Linked DNA regions of Homo sapiens: all the other regions are linked to region 4. Evidence: promoter capture Hi-C in 16 types of primary human blood cells and fetal thymus (Javierre and others, 2016). All regions are on one chromosome and are shown on one strand. Each heading gives the region's core, a stretch centred on a gene start or on the middle of the fragment in contact. The rest is flanking DNA. Distances are from core to core; before and after follow the strand shown. Region 1 overlaps INPP4A (inositol polyphosphate-4-phosphatase type I A). Region 2 has its middle 2.9 kb from the start of INPP4A. Region 3 overlaps CNGA3 (cyclic nucleotide gated channel subunit alpha 3). Region 4 holds the start of COX5B (cytochrome c oxidase subunit 5B).

Region 1 (4,725 bases), core at 1,337-3,836, 820 kb before region 4:
CCACTGTATGTGGGACAGTATGGTCCTCATCAGGCTGCTGTGAGGTATGGCAGGTCAAATAATGCCCCCTGCAAAAGAGGTTCACGTTCAAATCCTTGGAACCTATTAATGTTACCTTATACAGCAAAGGATTTGCAGACTCAATTAAGTTTCGAATCTTGAGATGAGATTATCCTAGATTACACTGGTAGGCCCCAAATGCCATCACAAATGTCCTTATATGAAGGCAGGAGATTTCGGAGAGAAGAGAGGGCCGTGTGACAGAAGCAGAGAGAAGCGGAGTCACGGAGAGAAGATGTTACCCTGCTGGTGTGAAGATGAGGAAGGGGCCGGCAGCCGAGGCAAGCCAGCAGCCACAGAATGGATTCCGCCCTAAGCTACTGGAGGGAACATGGCCTTGCCCACAGCTTGATTCAGCCCAGTGATTCTGGAGGCCAGAACAGTGAGAGAATAAGTTCCTTTCGCTTTAAGCCACCGAGTTTGTTACAGCAACCACAGGAAGCTAATACAAGGGATTAAAAGGGAAGTGGATACAAAGCAATCAGCACGCTATCTGGCACGTGGTAGGAACTCGAGAATCCCCATTAGTGAAGGACAGTTCCTGACATCCTCCCTGGGCCACCAACCCATCCTCAAAAGCTGTGTGAAAACCTACAACCTTGTACTGCAATAACGAGCTCTGTACTCTGCTCACAAAAGCTCCTTCGTGTGTATCGTCTCAGTTGATTCTGTCCTAAAAAGGAGTTTCCAAGGTTGTCCAAGGACTCTCGGCTTGTCACATATAAATACAACACTGCCACAGGCCTTGTCTTCAACATTCAGTTCAATTAGTTAAAATATTTCACAGGATGGCCTCTGCTGATATCTCATGGAGCAGACCCTCCTGATCTCAGGCATCATGAGCTGTGATCAGGGCCATCTTACCTTGCAGAAACACAGCACAAGTACTTCTCTCAGCCACAGGCCTTGCAACTGTCAACAGAGAAGCTGGTGCCGAGTTCTGACATGGGAACTGAGAACTCTGCCCCTGTCAGGGCAGACATGGCAGAAGAAGAGGCTGGGCAGGCAAAAAAAGACACTGGCTAGCACTTGACCTTCCAAACTGCTTTTCAGCTTGACTCATGCAAAGAGGTTTATCTCTCCCCTAAACCCCCTGCTTTTTGTTTCTTCAGCCCTTGCTCTGTGCACCCCCACTCTCGATTTTCCTCTTTGAGGAGCGAGTCCCAAGTGTCGAAACCCACCATGTGCAATAATTCCACTTCCTCCGTCGTGCTCGGCCTCCATCATGCAGACCCTGGGGCCTCAGCTTCCCCTGGGTTGCTGCGAGGATGTGGCCCCATGAATCTGACGGCTCTCCTGCCCTCCCCTCTGCCCCATTTTGTTCGAGACTCAGGGCTGTGCTGTCCCAACCTTCCCCAGCCTGTGCAAGATTTGAAGACTGTCCCCTTCATCAAGCCACAGCAGCCCTCAGCCACAAAGAGCTCAGGGTGGAGCCTCAAAACCTCAAGAGTATCTTAAAGAAAAAATGAAGAAAAAGAAGAAGCCTATTCACTTCCTAAAAACAGCCATCTGCAGGCCCTCTGAGATATCTTTTTTGCACCCATTCTTCTACAAGCTTCTGCCAGCGCCAGGTTCACTGGGTGGAGACCGTGTACCCTAAGCCAACTGACTACTGACCACTATCAGGCAGGAGACAAGGGCTGTGCACGGAGCGAGCAGAGACTGGAGGAAAAGCTGCCTCAGCATTCCTCAGCCCCTGGCACCGCATGCAGCAGACCCTAGGGCTAACAGCTCACACCTACCAGACCTTCACTTGACCATGGACGCTCATGGCTCTGGTCTGCCCTAAATCCCGCACAGGGGCTTGTAAGCAGTCTCGCAGGCACATGCCTGTGAGCCCTCCGCAGGTGGCTACTACTTCCTGCTCTCCTACAGACAGACCCCAGGGCCAGCTCCACAAGTCAATTCCTTTGTGCCTGAAAACTACCTGCTGCGTGAGTGAATGAGAAGGGGCAGGTGTGCTCCCAGTTGGTAACTTTGCATCACCTCGCCTGTGATGAATGACCATGCCATATCACAGATTCAGAAACTGAAGACCACCAACCAACATGACTCCAAAATGTACGTGCAACGTGCTGCCCAGGCCGTTGCCTTCCCTCTGAGATGTAGAGCACCTTGGTTGGAACAGCTGAAATGCTGGGAGGGCATGGCCAGAACCAGCCTCAGCGAGACACCATCACAGCTGAAATGTAGACTTCCACACAAGCACTGTGTGTTCCTGGGCCTGGCTGTCATTAAGGTCCCTGCAGAACCATCTGCCCTTGCACCTGCAGCTTGAGTTGGCCGCTTGATAGGCCAGGCAGAGGAAAGCCCAACAGAGCCAATGTACCTGAAACTGGGGTCAAAAGCAGCTTTGACAAGCCTCACTCAGGATGCTACAGGTTAGTTTAAAATGTCTGTGGGCTGGGCGCGGTGGCTCACGTCTGTAATCCCAGCACTTTCGGAGGCCGAGGCGGGCAGATCATCTGAGGTCAGGAGTTCAAGACCAGCCTGGCCGACATGGTGAAACCCCGTTTCTACTAAAAATACAAAAATTAGCCGGATGTGATGGCACACACCTGTAATCCCAGCCACTTGGGAGGCTGAGGCAGGAGAATGGCTTGAACCCGGGAGGTGGAGGTTGCAGTGAGCCAAGATTGCAACAGAGCACGATTCTGTCTTGAATAAAAATTTTAAAAAATTAAAAATTAAAAATAAATAAAAAATAAAATGTCTGTGTGTTGGCTGGACATGGTGGATCACACCAGTAATCCCAGCACTTTGAAAAGCTGAGGCAGGTGGATTGCTTGAGCCCAGGAGTTCAATACCAGCCTAGGCAACATAGCCAAACCCACAAAAAAAAATTAAAAATTAGCCAGGCATGGTGGCATACACCTGTAGTCCCAGCTACTCAGGAGGCTAAAGTGGGAAGATCACTTGAGCCTGGAAGGCAGAGGCTGCAGTGAGCCATGATCCTGCCACTACACTCCAGTCTGGTTGACAGAGTGACACCCTGTCTCAAAAAAAAAACAATAATAATTAAAAAAATAAAAGGTCTGTGTGTAACTAGAAGGTAATATTTTATTTTATTTTTATCTATTTATTTATTTATTTTTGAGACAGAGTCTCCATCTGTTGCCCAGGCTAAAGTGCAGTGGCACGATCTCGGCTCACTGCAACCTCTGCCTCCCGGGTTCAAGCGATTCTCCTATCTCAGACTCCTGAGTAGCTAGGACTACAGGCGCCTGCCACCACGCCCAGCTAATTTTTTGTATTTTTAGTAGAGATGGGGTTTCACTGTGTTAGCCAGGATGGTCTCGATGTCCTGACCTCATGATCCGCCCACCTTGGCCTTCCAAAGTGCTGGGATCATAGGCGTGAGCCACCACGCCTGGCCACTAGAAGGTAATATTTTAGAGACATGTGCCTTACAAATAGTATCTAACCATTAACTGCCCATTTCCCAAAGAAAACCCTACAGGCCAGGTCATAATTGAAATAAACGGGCAGAAGCTTAAACACGTCGTCTAACCCCACCCTCTTTTTCCAGCTAGAATGATGCTCAATCCAGCCAGAGCCTAGGCCCAGACCTCAGAGCAAGGGGGGTGCAGCTTCCTTCACAAAACTAACGTATTAGTGTGAAGCACAGGCTGGAAAGAAGCTAACAGGCATCCAGAGAGCACTGGTTGAAGAATCTGCAGCACAGCCTGGCAGCAGGCCAGCATGCAGCTGGACAATGGAACACAAAACTCCTTGTGGGCCAGTGAAACCGTCAGAAGAGGCACACAGCGAGCACGCAGCATGGCACCAGGGATGTGGAAAACTGTCTCATGTCTGCACATGCAGGCCTGCTGGCATATACACAGCATAACTTCAGAAAAAAACCCAACAAGCACATGGCATTGGTGTCTTAAGGGAGGGGACATGGATGGCTAGAGGATAGGGTAGGAAACAGGCTTTACCACATATCCTGCTATATTTTACAATTTTTAAGCCATGAAAATGTTTGCCTATTAAAACATAAAATGTTATCAAATTTGTCAAACCAAGTTAAGTACAGGGAGGTTTTTGAGAAGTCTCTCCAAGAGACATTAGTGCACAGCCAATAAGGGGATGGAAGATTTCAAGGAGCCCTGCTCTGGGGCAGGCACCCCTGCAGGTGACAGAATCAAAGCTAGGCCCACACCTGTTGCTGGCAGTGACTGCCACGGCCTTGGCAATGAGCATCCCTTGCTCTCCGCCCTTCACTTCCTTCTTCTCTGACTTGTCTCCTTCCACTCTGTTTGCCTCCTCTGCCATGTCACTACATCATGTGGCATAGTGAAGTCTATATTCCAAGTCAGAGTCCCAGTTAGAGATGGAGGGTGGTGTGGCAGAACCATGAGCCAACCCCCGTCCCTGTAATCATCTCTCACTACCAAACCACCCCCTCGCCAGCTACTGGCTCACAGGCTTGACTGTGTCTTTTTGCACTGCACCCACTGTGCAGATACCCCATGAGGTCACGGGAAGGGCGTGGCTATGGAGAAGATGGAACCGGCTGCAGCTGCCCAGCCAGCTATTTCACACTGTAGGGAGAGCCCCTGAGACAATTAATACCATTTCTAGAAACCAGCATTTCTGGGTTTCTTTACACCCCAATGCTTCCTCTTCCTCATGGTGTTTCAGCACAGTGTTTCACAGGTG
Region 2 (4,978 bases), core at 829-3,328, 800 kb before region 4:
TCCTGAAGTGCAGACGTACTCACTCCCCAGGAGATGTTTAGGAAACTGAACATTCCAACCAGACAAGCAAAAAATTAAAATCTTAATTCTTTGAAAATACAGACTTGCAAAAAAAAGAAAATTGCTAACCTCTAAGTGTATGTCCTTCCGGACCTGTTCTGGCCTGTGTGCATAAGTGTGCACTAACAGACTTGCAACAGCATCAGTCCTTACACTTTGCCCCAAGTTTCTATTTTTCCATAGACAAAAACAATAATCAGAAGTTTTGGAAGAAAATTTTCACTTTGACTTTAAAACAGCATTTCTCCTTGAGCAAGGGCAAATACTGGACTGAATGTATCCTTATCTTTGAGTCTTCACATTTTATCCGAAAAAAAAATTCTTAAAATGATTTTAATTCAATAAACCAGAATACTTCTCAGGCAGAGCATTTAAACATATAATTTGCTTCAAAAACAAAAGAGATTAACCAGTTAGGAATGGAAATTAAGAATTCTCTGAACTCATTTAGAATTATGTCTGATCCTCCTCATGTCACCAAAATACAGACAATAGTCTGGAATAAAAATAAACAAATATAAAACGAGTTTTTTGGGGAGCCTGAGGCAGGAGCATCGATTGAGCAGAGGAATTTGAGGCTGCAGTGTCAGCCTGGGAGACAGAGCAACACCCTGTATCTCTAAAAAAAAAAAAAAAAAAAAGAAAAGAAAAGAAAAGAAAAAAGAAAAAGAAAATGTCCTAGTTTTAAATTTTTATTTCTTTACTTTTTATTTTATTTCTCTTCTGAAAAGTAACTTAGTAATAAAACAGTTCCCTCTTATTATTTCTCCAGCTAAATGGAAAGAAATATTGACAGAACCTTGACTCCACAGTACAAAGTTAAAGCCAAGAAAATCAAATTTGTAGAAATGCAAAAATATTTTTGCATTTTTTTTAATTACTGTGACCAATTAGTTTGCTTGGAACAGCCCCAGTTTACATCTTTTTGCAGCAAAATTATTAATAGGGCCCTCTTTCACTCTCAAATGTATTCCTGTTCAAACAATAAATTTTATGGCCATGCTGTTTATTTATTTATTTTTGGGATGGAGTTTCGCTCTTTTTGCCTAGGCTGGAATGCAATGGCGCGATCTCGGCTCACCGCAACCTCTGCCTCCCAGGTTCAAGCAATTCTCCTGCCTCAGCCTCCCAAGTAGCTGGGATTACAGGCATGTGCCACCACCCTGGCTAAATTTGTATTTTTAGTAGAGACAGGGTTTCTCCATGTTGGTCAGGCTGGTCTTGAACTCCTGACCTCAGGTGATCCACCCGCCTCGGCCTCCCAAGGTGCTGGAATTACAGGCGTGAGCCACCACGCCTGGCAGTCATAATCAAGCTAAGAAAGTTGTTAAACACTAACTTTTAAAAAAGAAAAAAAAATTAAATTTATAAAGATTTAAAAATAGATATCAGTCTAATTTCAGTATTCATTCATTTAGTACAGTAACACTGAATGAGGATCAGCTTCCAATAACATCTGTCACTTGACTGTTATGTAATTCTGGATAATCTTCAAAGATCAATCACATTTTCAGTGTGGCAAAGAATGAGGCCCTAATTCCACCGTAGAATGAAAATTATCAAGAGAAAAGGGAGCCATGTGTTAGTTAATACTGTAAAAGGAAAATAAAATCTCGGGACCCCCAAACTCACTACTCCAAAGGGAAAAGCTAAGCTTGGGAACTGAATCATGCAAAAAAAACTGCCTTCCTTTTGTTCCTAAAGAGATAGCTGCAAGATAGAAGGCCACATATCTCCCCAGGTGGCCTCCCTCACCCTGACAATGTAAATTAACAGCTTATCGTCACAGGAATGGGACAAAGACAAGCGGAGGAATCATCCTTCCACCCACCCCAAGACAAATGCATATTTGACCTCTTCCTCTACTCTCTGTTTACTTACCTTATGTAAAAATGCATAATTCACTGTTCTTCTTTCCCCTCCTGCCCACTTTTTCCTCTTTAAGTATTGAAGTCCCCAAAACCCTCTTGGGAAAAAGCATAGGCCACAGATCCTACTGATCCTACTGTAGTTTGTGCCTCATTTTCCCAGTTGCATCCTCAACCTTGGCAAAATAAACCTCTAAATTGACAGATCTGTCTCAGACACCTTTTGGTTTACAATATCATGCTATATCTTCCCTAAGCATCACGATGTGATAGCTAAGTATGCTGGTGGTAAAGTATCTCAGTCCTTCAGAAGTTCTCAACATGGGGTCCCTAACCAGTCACATCAACATCCTCCCAGAACTTGCTAGAAATGCAAATTCCCAGACCCCATCCCAGATCTGCTGAATCAGAAACTCTAGAAGTGGGGCCAAGTGACCTGTATTTTAACAAGCCCTCCAAGGGATTCTGATGAACATACTGACTTAAATGATCTATATACAATAAGTAAGCTTAAGGGAGGGGACCACCCCTCATATTGTCTTATGCCCAATTTCTGCCTCCAAAGAAAGAAGAAGTAAAAACTGAAAGGCAGAAATGAAATCCACAGGCAGACAGCCCAGCGCCGCGCCCTAGGCCTGCTAGTTAAAGATTGACCCCTGACCTAACCAGTTATGTTATCTATAGATTCCAGATATTGTATGGAAAAGCATTGTAAAAATCCCTGTCCTGTCCTGTTCCATTCTGATTACCCGTGCATGCAGCCCCCAGTCATGTACCCCTACTTGCTCGATTGATCATGACCCTCTCACACGGACCCCCTTAGAGTTGTGAGCCCTTAAAAGGGACAGGAATTGCTCACTCAGGGAGCTTGGCTCTTGAGACAGGAGTCTTGCCGGTGCTGCCGACTGAATAAACCCCTTCCTTCTTTAACTCAGTGTCAAGGAGTTTTGTCTGTGGCTCGACCTGCTGCAAGCTGATTCAGATTATCTACATACAATAATTAAGAGGTGAACAGTGTTATCTTTAGGACTAGAACCATCCTACATGAGAATTTATCTTCAGGCCATTTAACAGGATATTTTTGTAGGGATACAGTCAGCTATCCAAATCTATGGTTTCCACATCCATGGATTCAACCAAATCACAGATCAAAAATGTCTGGAAAAAAAAATCGCATCTGTACTGAACTTGTATGGACTTTTTTTTCTTGTCATTATTCCTTAAACAATAGAGTATAACAATGATTTACATAACATTTACATTGTATTAAGTATTATAAGTAATCTAGAGATGATTGAAAGTATACAGGAGGATGTGCATAGGTTATATGAAAAAAACTACCCCATTTTATATAAGGGACATGAGCATCCATGGATTTTCATATCCACCAGAGGTCCTGGAACCAATCTCCCATGGATACTGAGGGACGACTACATAGAATATGTGTAACCTTGAGGCTGAGCACGGTGGCTCCACCTGTAATCTCAGCATTTGGGGAGGCTGAGGCGGGAGGATCACTTGAGGTCAGGAGTTTGAGACCAGCCTGGCCAACATGATGAAACCCTGTCTCTACTTGAAATATAAAAATTAGCCTGGCATAGTGGTGCATGCTTGTAATCCCAGCTACTCAGGAGGTTAAGGCACAAGAATCACTTGAACCCAGGAGGCAGGGGTTGCAGTGAGCCTGGGCAACAAAGTGAGACCCTGTCTCAAAAAAAAAAAAAAAGAAGAAGAAGAAGAAAGAGTATGTGTAACCTTGAAAACCAACAGCCCTGCAACCATAAGAGCAGTCTAGCAGCCACTGGAGGGACAAAAAGGATGTGGAGCACCTGAAAGAGCCCCATCCCCAGAGTCTTGGCACTATTTACTTGTCTGGCAGCTTCCTGGAAAAGCTACATTCCCAGGGTTTGTCTTTAATTGGCATAACTCAGAGCTTGCCCTGTGCAAATGGTCCTCTCCACAGGGCATTGTTGAAAACAATCAGTAACAATTGTTTAATATTACAGCAGCCTCAGGTAGTGACACCAGTTACAGCTAACAATAGGCTGACTGAAAAACTTGAAAAAGAAAAATGAAGAATGAGATGTCCATGGGGAGGGGGCATTAAAAAGATTTAACATAAGCTGCCTGGTGGCACATGCCTATGGTCCCAGCTACTCAGGAGGCTGAGGTGGAAGGATCACTCGAGCCCAGGAGTTTGAGGCTGTAGTGTGTTATGATTGCACCTGTGAATAGCCACTGGACAACATAGCAAGATCTCAACTATGCTATGGGCAACATAGCAAGATCTCATCTAACAGAAAAAAAAAAAAGATTAACATATTTCTGGAAATCTGAGAATGCCCAGGTTTTACTTCTGGCTAACTGTGAGGCTTTGAGCAAGCAGGATGTGAAGGCTGAGGCAAAGCTGTGAATTGTCTGCCTGAAAATTGAAGGCATGCATTAATATGCACACATAGTCCCACCATAAACAAAGGAAAAAAAAATCTTTGATTCTAGCATTTGAGGAATGATAGAGCATTTCTCTCATCATTAGTGAACAATTAAGCTAACTGAGTAAGGACTACAAATGGCTACAGTGACGTATCAGTGACTACAGATGACAAAGAATACAGACTTTACAAAATTAGTCCAAGAAAGGCATCAAAGAAATAAAAACAGTAACAACAGCAAACCCTGGGGGAAAGGGAAACATGGTTTTCAGAGTTGCCACATTACATTATTTTTAGTGTCTATATTTTAGCAAAAAGTTGTAAGACACATAAACAGGCAGAAAAGGACACAGGCTGGAAGGCAGTCAACAGACTGTCATTAAAAATGCATAAATTGTAGACTTACTAGACGAAGACCTAAAATTAGCTATTATAAATGTGTTCAAAGAACTGATGGAAACCATGTGTCAAAAATTAAAGGAAAGTATGAGAACAATATCTCACCAAAAAGAGAGTGTAGTTAAAGATATAGGAATTATATAACTATATATAAAGAAACTCTGTAATTGAAAGGTATAATAACTGAAATGAAAAATCCATTATAGGGGGACAATAGCA
Region 3 (4,848 bases), core at 1,934-4,433, 740 kb before region 4:
ACTTGTGAGGGCAAACGAAATGCTTCGGGTGGGGGGCACATGAGCAGGCTCACAGGGGCAGCCCCCGGCTGCCCACCGGAGGCTGCAGACAAGCAACTCTCTTTACTTATAAGCCCCCCTTGAGTTCCCGGAGCTTGGAGAGGATTCTTTCTGCAAGATGGGGGCTTCACATGGTCTCAGGAGGCATGGTCTGCAGCCTGCTGGGACCGACTTTTCCTCAGCTCCAAGCACCCTCTCCCCTCCAGGGCCGAAGCTAAGGCCCCCTGATAGCGTTGCTCCAAGATACCCAGCCCTGGAGCCCTGCAGGGAGGGGTCAGGCCTGCTGGGACCATGGCACCCCGTCTTTAGAGGCAGCTTCCTTCAGTACTTCCTCCTCGTGTTTTAGGTAGCTTTTCTCTCTTCTTTTTTCTCTTCGTTCTTTTCTGCCTTGCTGCTGGATGATGCCGGGGCACATTTAGCAGACTTCATATATCAAGGACATTACCAAATGGAAGGGGCAGGCTGCTGCGTCCCGGAGAGAGGGCGTGGCGTGTGGCGTCGTGGAGACGTCCTGAAGAGAGGGCGTGGCAAGGGGTGCTTCCAGCGCATTGGGATGAAATGGGGTTATTGATTTGTTATTATTATTCCTGAAGCGTGAGGTAAACCACCCCATTGAGTATACATTGAGAAATTAGTGGCTCAGTCTAATGTTCTACAATTTCTGATCTATTTTCATGAGCTCCTGGGAAGTCACAAACAGCCAGAGACTGGAGACGTTTTGAGGTAGTACGACATAGACCCAAATCCACACATTGAAGTTGGGAAAGTTACTCGGAGTTTTGGAAATCCCACGCCAGGCTCTCCGTTCTGAATGGAAGGGTGTGGCCTGTCCGCTGTTCTTGAAACCTCTCTCTGGATCAAGTGAAAACCTGGGCCTTAATGAGAAAGCCAGTGAGCAGAAGGGAAGCAACATTCGAAGAGGCGGGTCTGTGACGCATGTAGTGGCAAATACGTGTGGTCGCAGGTTCGCAAATGTGGCCGAGTTCAGACACGCCTTCGGACTTTGCTGGGCTGCGAGACGGTTCAGGCAGCGTCCGCAGGATGGTCCTGTGACTGCAGGTTTTTCTTCAACATAAGACTTCACACTGCTGCCTCTTCTTTATTGGGTGTCTTTTAAGAGCTAGGAACTCTTATAAAGTTATCTAATGAATACATGTAAATTTCTTCAAGGCAGGCAGTAATGCCCCATTGAATAGTTGAAGAAACAAAGGTTGCGGAAGGGACAACCCCTCGAGTCCCCTTCAGGCCCCTCTGATTTCTCTCTTCCACACGCTGAAGGAAGGCATGGTTGAGAGATAAATTCTGCTAATTAAACACTCATTGAAAAAGATCCATTCACAATTACCTAACACTTCCTATGGAAATAATCAAGGCTGTGTGCGATACGTGTGGAAAAATAATCACTGCCATTATTCATGACAATCAAAAAGGGAGAGCCACCGAATCACACGACCATGCAGGCTCATCCTCAACGGTGAATTCTACATGGCCACTTAAAACGCTGTTTCAGAAGAGCTAGTGACGTGGGAAAACGGTTCCTAATATTTTGCTAAGTTAAGAAGCAGACTACAAAAGAGTTTACCGTAATAGCTGGATCAGTTTTCTATTTCTGCCGGAACAAATTACTGCAAACTTATACAACATAAATGTATTATCTTGCAGATCTGTAGGTCAGAAGTCTACTGTGGATCTCACCAGACTAAAATCAAGGTGTTGACAGGGCTGCCATCCCCCAGAGTCTCTAGGCGGGGCTCTGATTCCTGCTCGTTTGGATCTTACGCAGAATCCAGCTTCTTGCGATTGTGGGGCTGAGATCCCTGTTTCCCTGCTGGCTGCACCTTTCGAGGCTGTGGCTTCCTTAGCTCAGGTCCCCTTCCTACATCTTCAAAGCCAGCAGTGATGGGTCGAGTCCCCCTCACACTGTGACTCTCTTCTTCTTCCATTTACTTTCTCTGACCCACTCTTCTGCTTTTAAGGACTCATGTGATTACAGTGGGCCCACCCTGATAATCCAGGATAACCTACCTGTATTAGTCTGTTCTCATGCTGCTAATAAAGGCATACCCGAGGGTGGGTAATTTATAAAGGAAAGAGGTTTAATGGACTCAGTTCCACATGGCTTGGGAGGCCTCGCAATCATGGTGGAAGGCAGATGAGGAGCAAAGTCACATCTTACGTGGCGGCACGCAAAGAGTCTGTGCAGGGGAACTCCCCTTTACAAAACCATCAGATCTCGTGAGACTTATTCACAGCATGGGAAAGACCCACCCCCATGATTCAATTACCTCCCACCAGATCTGTCCCGACACATGGGAATTAGAGGAGCTACAATTCAAGATGAGATTTGGGTGGGGACACAGCCAAGTCAAATCATTACCTATCTCAAGGACCTTGAATGTAATCACATTTACGAAGTTCCCTTTGCCATATGAGGTAACCTGTTTACAGGTTCTAAGGATTAGGATGGTAGACATCTTTTGGGGGAGATTGTTCTGCCTACCACACAAGTCAATATTTATTGAGCACTTACTATGTACCAGGCACTGTTCTGAGCACTTTTCACAGAGTAACACATTCAGTCTTCACTCCCACCATGTAATAAGACCCTATTACAATCCTTATTTTATAAGCCAGGAAACAGATACACAGAGAAGTTAGGTAACCAGCTTATGTGGTTTGAATCTGTGTCCCTGTCATGGTGGTGGATTTCTCATGGTTTGGCACCAATTCCTTGGTGCTTTGCTTGAGACAGTGAGTGAGTTTTCTTGAGATCTGGTTGTTTACGGCACCTACCCCACCTTCCTCCTGCTCCTGCCGTTTGAGACTCCTTGCTCCCCCTTTGCCTTCCACCATGATTGAAAGCTTCCTGAGGCCTCCCCAGAAGCAGAAGCTGCTATGCTTCCTGTATAGCTTGCAGTACCTCAAGCCAATTAAACCACTTTTCTGATAAATTACCGAGTCTCAGGCATTTCTTTCTAGCAATGTGAGAATGGACTAATACACTTGTCCAAGGTCACAAAGCTCTGAGGCAACTGAGTTGGGAAACAGATGCTCTTAACAAGTATATGTATATATAAAATATATTGTATCAATCTAAGTATTCAATATATATGCCTAGGAAGAAGTTGGAAGTATATTTGTCAACATGTTAAGTGGGGCTATCTCTGATAGTGGAATTCCATGGTTAGCATGAAGTGCAGTTTTTGTGTGTGTATGCCCCTGTGTGCTTTTCTTGTTTTCCAAGTTTTCAGCAAGAGTATTTCAATAAAGTGAATTAGAATAAAAGGTTATTAAAATCATTAAATGAAAAGAGCAAGGAAAGTTACCCCTCCTCTGTCCTCCAGGGTGATGTGAACCCTGGTCTCTTTTCAGGCACTGGAGTCTTAACGTCAAGTCACCAGCAGACGGCGCTGCCCTCAAGCTTTTTGGGTGAGCTTTGCCCTGCAGTTTACGCCGGACTCAGCTTGCCTTGTGCAAGATTTGTGGCCCTGGATTACGGGCCTTGGCCTGTCTGGGTACCAAACTGCTGAGAGCCTAGGAAAGACCCAGCACCATCGGCTGCATCCCCAAATCCACCCAGCACTGCCCCAAAAGAACCCTACACAGAACTGCAAAATGCTGCTGGTTTTGGCTGGGAACAGTTTGATGGGGGAGGGAAAAATTATTCAGGACAAATGAGACCATATGAAAATGACAGAAATGGAGTGAAGAGTCGGGGAAGGTGTTCATAAATAATTATTTTGTGTGTGTCCTCATTTTGGGATAGTTCCCAGTTTTGTCCCTTGGTCCTTGGCTTCAAAGTGGACCAGTGAAGTGAGCCCATTTATTGAAAGATTGAAGAGCCGGGTGCAGCCCACGCTATCCACCCACATCCTTGCCCACACCCCAGCCCCAGGACAAAGATGCCTAGAAACCCCCAGGACCTCTGTCCATGGTTTCAGTATCTGGAGCCGTTCCCTGCCTGAAAGACTTGATACTGCAGCTGCAAGGGTGTTTAGTGTCAGGTTTGGCTTTAAGTCAAACACATATCACTATAGCTATTGCTTTGTAGATAAAATCATCTCATTTTTCGTTATGGCTGGCATTTGGGTCTCTGGATTTGATGTCCAAATTTATGCAAACAAAAGACATGCTTCCTTCATGGAGAAAATAGAAAAAAGTTCTAGCTGAGGAACAAAGAGAGAAATAACAAGAAAAACCCTTGGCACATTTCTCTGTCTGTTGGAAGTCAAGAAATCGGCATTTCTCACTGATATAGGTATTTTTTCCCTAATCTCCAACTAAGACTTCCCCTCCTGAATAGTGCCACGCTGTCCCTAATCTGCCACCTTAGTATCTGGTGATGGAAAAAGGAATTATAGCAGGTCACCCTTTGAAGAGGCTATTCTCTGGACATATTTAAATTGCCTTTTTCCACTGCTCTGATTACGCCCCCAAAATTGGCCCAAATTGGCCTTAAAACACGGGAACTTCAGGCGAGGCGCAGTGGCTCATGCCTGTAATCCTAGCACTTTGGAGGCCGAGGCGGGTGGATCACGAGGTCAGGAGGTCGAGACCATCCTGGCTAACACGGTGAAACCCCCCCTCTCTACTAAAAATACAAAAAAACTAGCCGGGTGTGGTGGCGGGCGCCTGTAGTCCCAGCTACTCGGGAAGCTGAAGCAGGAGAATGGCGTGAACCCGGGAGGCGGAGCTTGCAACGAGTCAAGATGGCGCCACTGCACTCCAGCCTGGGTGACAGAGCAAGACTCCATCTCAAAAACAAACAAACAAACAACAATAACAACAGCAGCAAAAACAAGGGCATTT
Region 4 (4,687 bases), core at 1,018-3,517:
TAATCTAAGCACTATACACTGGTTATACACTTTCAGTAAGTGGATGGCAAGCTAGCATTAACAGACAGCTTTTCCCAAAATAAGCATATTCCATGCCTACCAAAGAATACGGGTAAGAAATAAGACCAGCCATCTATGGGAGAAGGAGCCAATGCAATGGCTAGTCTTTACTGGAAAGAAGAAACTTTACAGCACATTTTGAGTAATTTAGTGCAGGTGCTCAGTGTGCCAGCTGCTGGGGCACCAGCTTGTAATGGGCTCCACAGCGGGGGCATCGCTGGGCCTCGCCTTTGTGCAGCCAAAACCAGACGACGCTGGTATTGTCCTCTTCACCTAAAAGGGAAAAAAGGTGGTTTATGGTCATCCAACCTAGAAAGGGAGACTTTCAACATGAATTTCTTTTCCTCAGACATCTCTGATACACAAGTAAGACTATGGTTGATATCTTAAGAGATCAGTTCAAGCCCTCCTCCCATTCTTCAGATGAAGAAATTGAGGCTCTGAGTTCACCTATGAGTAAACTGACCTTGTATCAAGGTCACTGTAAATTCTAACAATTCCCTTGCCTATGTAGAACGCAAAGCAGGGTCCGTTCTGGTATGTATCCCTAGTGTCTAAAATGATGCCTGGCATAGAAGCAGTATAACAATAAATATTTGCTGGGTGGGTACTCCTTCATGCCGCACTCCCAGTGAGCCAGTCTTACCGCTGTGCTGCGCTTCTTTCCAGTAAGGATGAACTATCAGGCATAATGAGGCTTGAGAGTGTCAAGACCCTTAGACAAACTTACCAACATGCACTCACACACTGAAGATTTGAGGCAGCTTACACACTATTGTAGGATATATTAAGCAAGTGGATAAAAAATAGAGGTGAGGTACTTACAGATGCAGCCTACTATTCTCTTGTTGGAGATGGAGGGGACTAAATTAGGGTCTTCCCTGGTGCCTGAAGCTCCCTTTGGGGCCAGTACATTGTATGGGTCCTGAAGAAAAAACAAAAAACAAAACAAAACAAAAAAAACAAGAATTGAACCATTAGGCCAAATAAGCCCTACCTTCCAGAAGCTCAGGGGACTGTTCCTACAAGCCAAGTTTCCTGTATCAAATACTCCCAGAGAGGAGACCACTATGAACACATCCAAGGCCATAAGTTACACAGAAGACACAGAAGGGAGTTTCTCCTTACCAGTCCCTTCTTTGCAGCCAGCATGATCTCCCTCTCCAACCCAGTCGCCTGCTCTTCATCAGTGGGAACACCACCTAAAGGAAGATAACGTGAATTATGACGCTGACTGAAATGACTGATAGAAAAACTACAAACAGAAATGATCAAGGAAAATGGTGCCCCGAAACTTCTGTATAAGTTTTAGCGGGCTCACAAGCTCCTAAAGGCTACTCATATCCATGGTCCCCTAAGAACCACCAAGTACCCATCCACACAAGCGGCAGCACTCGGGGGAGCTTTTTTTTTCTTTTTTGAGACGGAGTTTTGCTCTTGTTGCCCAGGCTGGAGTGCAATGGCGCGATGTTGGCTCACGGGAACCTCCGCCTCCCGGGTTTAAGCGATTCTCCTGCCTCAGCCTCCCGAGTAGCTGGGACTACAGGCGCGCGCCACCACGCCCGGCTAATTTTTGTATTTTTAGTAGAAACGGGGTTTTACCATGTTGGCCAGGCTGGTCTTGAGCTCCTGACCTCAGGGGATCTGTCCGCCTCGGCCTCCCAAAGTGCTGGGATTACAGTTGTGAGCCACCGCGCCCGGCCTATGAGCTTTTCTTTCTCCAACCACCGAGGCAAATTTGTCGACATTTGTCTAAAAGCATGTAGAACCCACTCTGCTTGAGGTGGGCGCAGGTTTGAAGGGAGGCCGGACCCCTCCCCATCCCGGTGGCAGCCCCGGTCCCTCCCAAGGTCACCCGGCACCTCCGTTTAGGATACTTTCGCAGCGGAGTGAGTTCGGGGAGCGGCAGGAGCAGCGGTCCAGAATTACAGGGAGATGCCTGCAGAGCCTGAGGCACTGGGGACCGTAAAGCGGCCACTGGGACCTCGAGAAGCTGCACGAGCCGCGCCGCTTTGCCGCCCTGGGACCACCCTGGGAGGGCAACACTCTGGTCCCTGGCACGCCCGGAGACCCGAGTACCTCCAGATGCCATGGAGCGCATCGCGGCCGCGCCACTGGGGCCGCGAGCCCTCAGGGCCTGCGCGGCCAGCGTTCCAGCTCCGCGAAGTAACCTTGAAGCCATTGCGTCCGCGACTAGCAGCAAAACTTCCGGGAACAAGCTGCAGAGACAGGAGGGACTTCCGGGGGCGGGCTTCTTTCTCCTCTCGGTCAGCTTTCGGCTTCCTCCCAGCCCTCGAGCCCGCCCACTCCCAAGACTGTGGCGGGGGCGGAAATTGCGCATGCCCAGCTCTGCCTCTTTCTGCACCGCGTAGTGGCTGAGGCTTGGGGGCGGGGTTGCCTTTAATAACGCTGGGAGGTGGGAAAGTCTTTTTGGTCCCTGGAGTTGAGCGGCTGAACCACATTGGAGTTCCTGTGGGTCTGGCCCCGTAGTCGTGTTCAGCAAACGTGGAGGCTGCTAATGGAAGCTATTAGGTCCCCGTCTGTGAAGAGACTTACTGAACCCCAAATGATTTGAATTTAGAAGTGGGCTCCTAAAGATCACTGCGTTCCTTACTAGGCTGGTTAGTGGCAGGGCTGGTTCTGGCAGTGCGTGGGCCGTCGCGAGCGTGTCGCATTGGACGGGACCTACCTGCAGTCCTGGCCCAGTTTCGTGTTAGAGTTGTACTGTGTGTGGGAGGCGCGGAGGTCCCGGCCTGGGGAGGAGGACAGGGCCGGGGGCGGGACCCCCTACCAGGACCAAGGCCCTGGTGATGTGAAGGAAGTGGCCACTCTTTTTCGAGGCTACTAAGGGAGGAGGAGCAGGAAGGGGAGTTGATAATAGGAAATGGAGTTAGAGCCTGCTGTGACTGGAGTTCCTTGTTTGAAACGGAAAACATATTCCGTCCATGGCTTCCCGTTGCCCATAGGCTAAGATGTGCAAATTTCTTAGGGTGAGCTTTAGTCAGTATAGCCCTGTGACAGGCTAGCTGCATGCGGTATCTGAGTTTCCCTACCAGATAGAAAAATCCCCTTAGAGTGGGAATTAATGCTCATCATTGAATCTTCAATGCCTTGCAGAGGTCTGGTATATAGTAGGATCCAGTAATTTTAGTAAATTTACTACTTGGATAGAGTATACAAAACCAGTTTATAGGGCTTTTCCTGGCCCAGTGAGGTCAATTGGAGGCAACATGGGGAGAGTTGAAGGCTTAGGTGCTCCCGCCTGTCTCATGCAGGCTACGGTATTTTCAAAAGGACGTGGTGGAGCGTTGCTTCACAGGAGCACGTCTGGTCTTCCTGGGTGCCCCCTCCACCAATTAAAAAAAAAAAAAAAAAAACCCTGTATTCTAAGGCCAAAATTTCTTTAAAGGTGGTTTTTGCTTTGAATGGCTTCACTGTTACTCCCTTCTCCCTCACCTCCACTGCAACCCCTCCAAGTTGAATTGGGCGAAAATTCTGAGGATCTGTAGTTAATTTGCAACTGTGGTTAAGGTCTTAGGCAGGAGAAAAAAGCATTGGTCTGGAAAGTAGCCCCACCAGCTAGTTCAGCTACTTTTTATCCTTTGGGCCGCCATTTCTACATCAGTAAAACTGTCGTTCAACTAGGTTAGTATTTCCCAAAGTGTATTGCATGGCATCCAAGTCTCAAGACATGATCTCAAGAAAAAGGACTTGGTCAAGACAGGGAGGGCCTGCATTTGATGACCACCCTTTTGGAGATGGACACTAGCATAATAAAGGCTCTGATTAGGCTTGCAGTAAAGACCTCTTATTTAATTTACCTGCAGTTTAAGCCAGAGTTTCCCTGTCTTAATTGACCACAAAATCCTTTCTGAGGAACACCTACTAACTTGCCCCTCAGCAAACCAGTGAGGTATTCAGCTCTGATATGTTATGATTCCCTGCTGCCTGACCAGAAGTGGTTTACTCCAGGCTATAAAATGGAAATTGAGTTTAGGCTTCTCACTCTCATAGTAGGCTTGCCTAATAATAGGAAATTTTCGCAGGCCCTCATCCAACTCAGGAAAACCTCAGCCTCACTCTGGGATTATTTAGATTGTGTGAGTGAGCTCCAAGGTCAGGTCCAGGCTCCCCAGATGTCCCCGCATCCCTTGCTGCTTCCAGCTCCCACCACTGTCAACTCACACCCAGTCCCTCAGGTCTCCTTTGGAAACAGTTGGCTTGGGGAACAGTCTGCCACCTCTGCTCTATCATTGTCTTTGCCAGCACAATAAACTTATTTTTATAGGATAATTTTCAGTTGTCAAAATAAATGTACATTATAAGTTGAACAGCACAGATATATAAGGAACAAGCTAGCAGTTTGGTGCTTATCCTTTTTTTCCTTTCCCTATGACAGAGTTTCTCAAGCTCAGCACAACTGACATCTTGGGTTGATAATTCTTTGAGGGAGGTTGTGCATTGTAGGATTTAACCCTATGTCATTAGCACCTCCCTGACATGATAACCAAAAATATCTTCAGCCATTGCCACATGCCCCCTGGATTTGCAAAATTCCCATTGAGCATCACTGCATATATGAATATAAAATATAAAAACATAACTACTATACAAAGTTTTAGTTAGT

Evidence for each region. Contacts are between HindIII fragments. The CHiCAGO score rates a contact against its expected background, and 5 or more counts as called.
Region 1: a fragment that was not itself captured here is called in contact with the fragment with the promoter of COX5B in region 4 in 1 of 17 cell types (neutrophils); the score reaches 5.1 in neutrophils.
Region 2: a contact is called between a fragment that was not itself captured here and the fragment with the promoter of COX5B in region 4, in 2 of 17 cell types (neutrophils and fetal thymus). The highest score is 6.1, in neutrophils.
Region 3: a contact is called between a fragment that was not itself captured here and the fragment with the promoter of COX5B in region 4, in 2 of 17 cell types (total B cells and fetal thymus). The highest score is 6.6, in total B cells.

What each region holds. Positions count from the first base shown.
Region 1 is chr2:98,460,878-98,465,602 of GRCh38, reverse strand. All of the region lies in intron 1 of INPP4A (inositol polyphosphate-4-phosphatase type I A), which reads right to left. Among named protein-coding and RNA genes, the nearest start is that of INPP4A, 18 kb to the right of the region's middle. RefSeq lists enhancers at 1-157, 168-307, 1,558-1,607, 1,794-2,309. The HindIII fragment of the contact is 1,937 bases long and covers 1,618-3,554 here.
Region 2 is chr2:98,439,513-98,444,490 of GRCh38, reverse strand. No RefSeq gene overlaps it. Among named protein-coding and RNA genes, the nearest start is that of INPP4A, 2.9 kb to the left of the region's middle. The HindIII fragment of the contact is 723 bases long and covers 1,717-2,439 here.
Region 3 is chr2:98,383,853-98,388,700 of GRCh38, reverse strand. All of the region lies in intron 5 of CNGA3 (cyclic nucleotide gated channel subunit alpha 3), which reads right to left. Among named protein-coding and RNA genes, the nearest start is that of CNGA3, 40 kb to the right of the region's middle. RefSeq lists a silencer at 416-603 and enhancers at 4,164-4,739, 4,740-4,848. The HindIII fragment of the contact is 559 bases long and covers 2,904-3,462 here.
Region 4 is chr2:97,643,642-97,648,328 of GRCh38, reverse strand. COX5B (cytochrome c oxidase subunit 5B) reads right to left here and starts at 2,267. Exons shown (of 4, transcript NM_001862.3): 1 at 2,140-2,267; 2 at 1,189-1,262; 3 at 886-985; 4 at 1-333. The coding sequence starts at 2,242. The coding sequence ends at 221. RefSeq lists enhancers at 2,163-2,342, 2,523-2,572, 2,375-3,309. The HindIII fragment of the contact is 14,381 bases long and covers 1-4,687 here.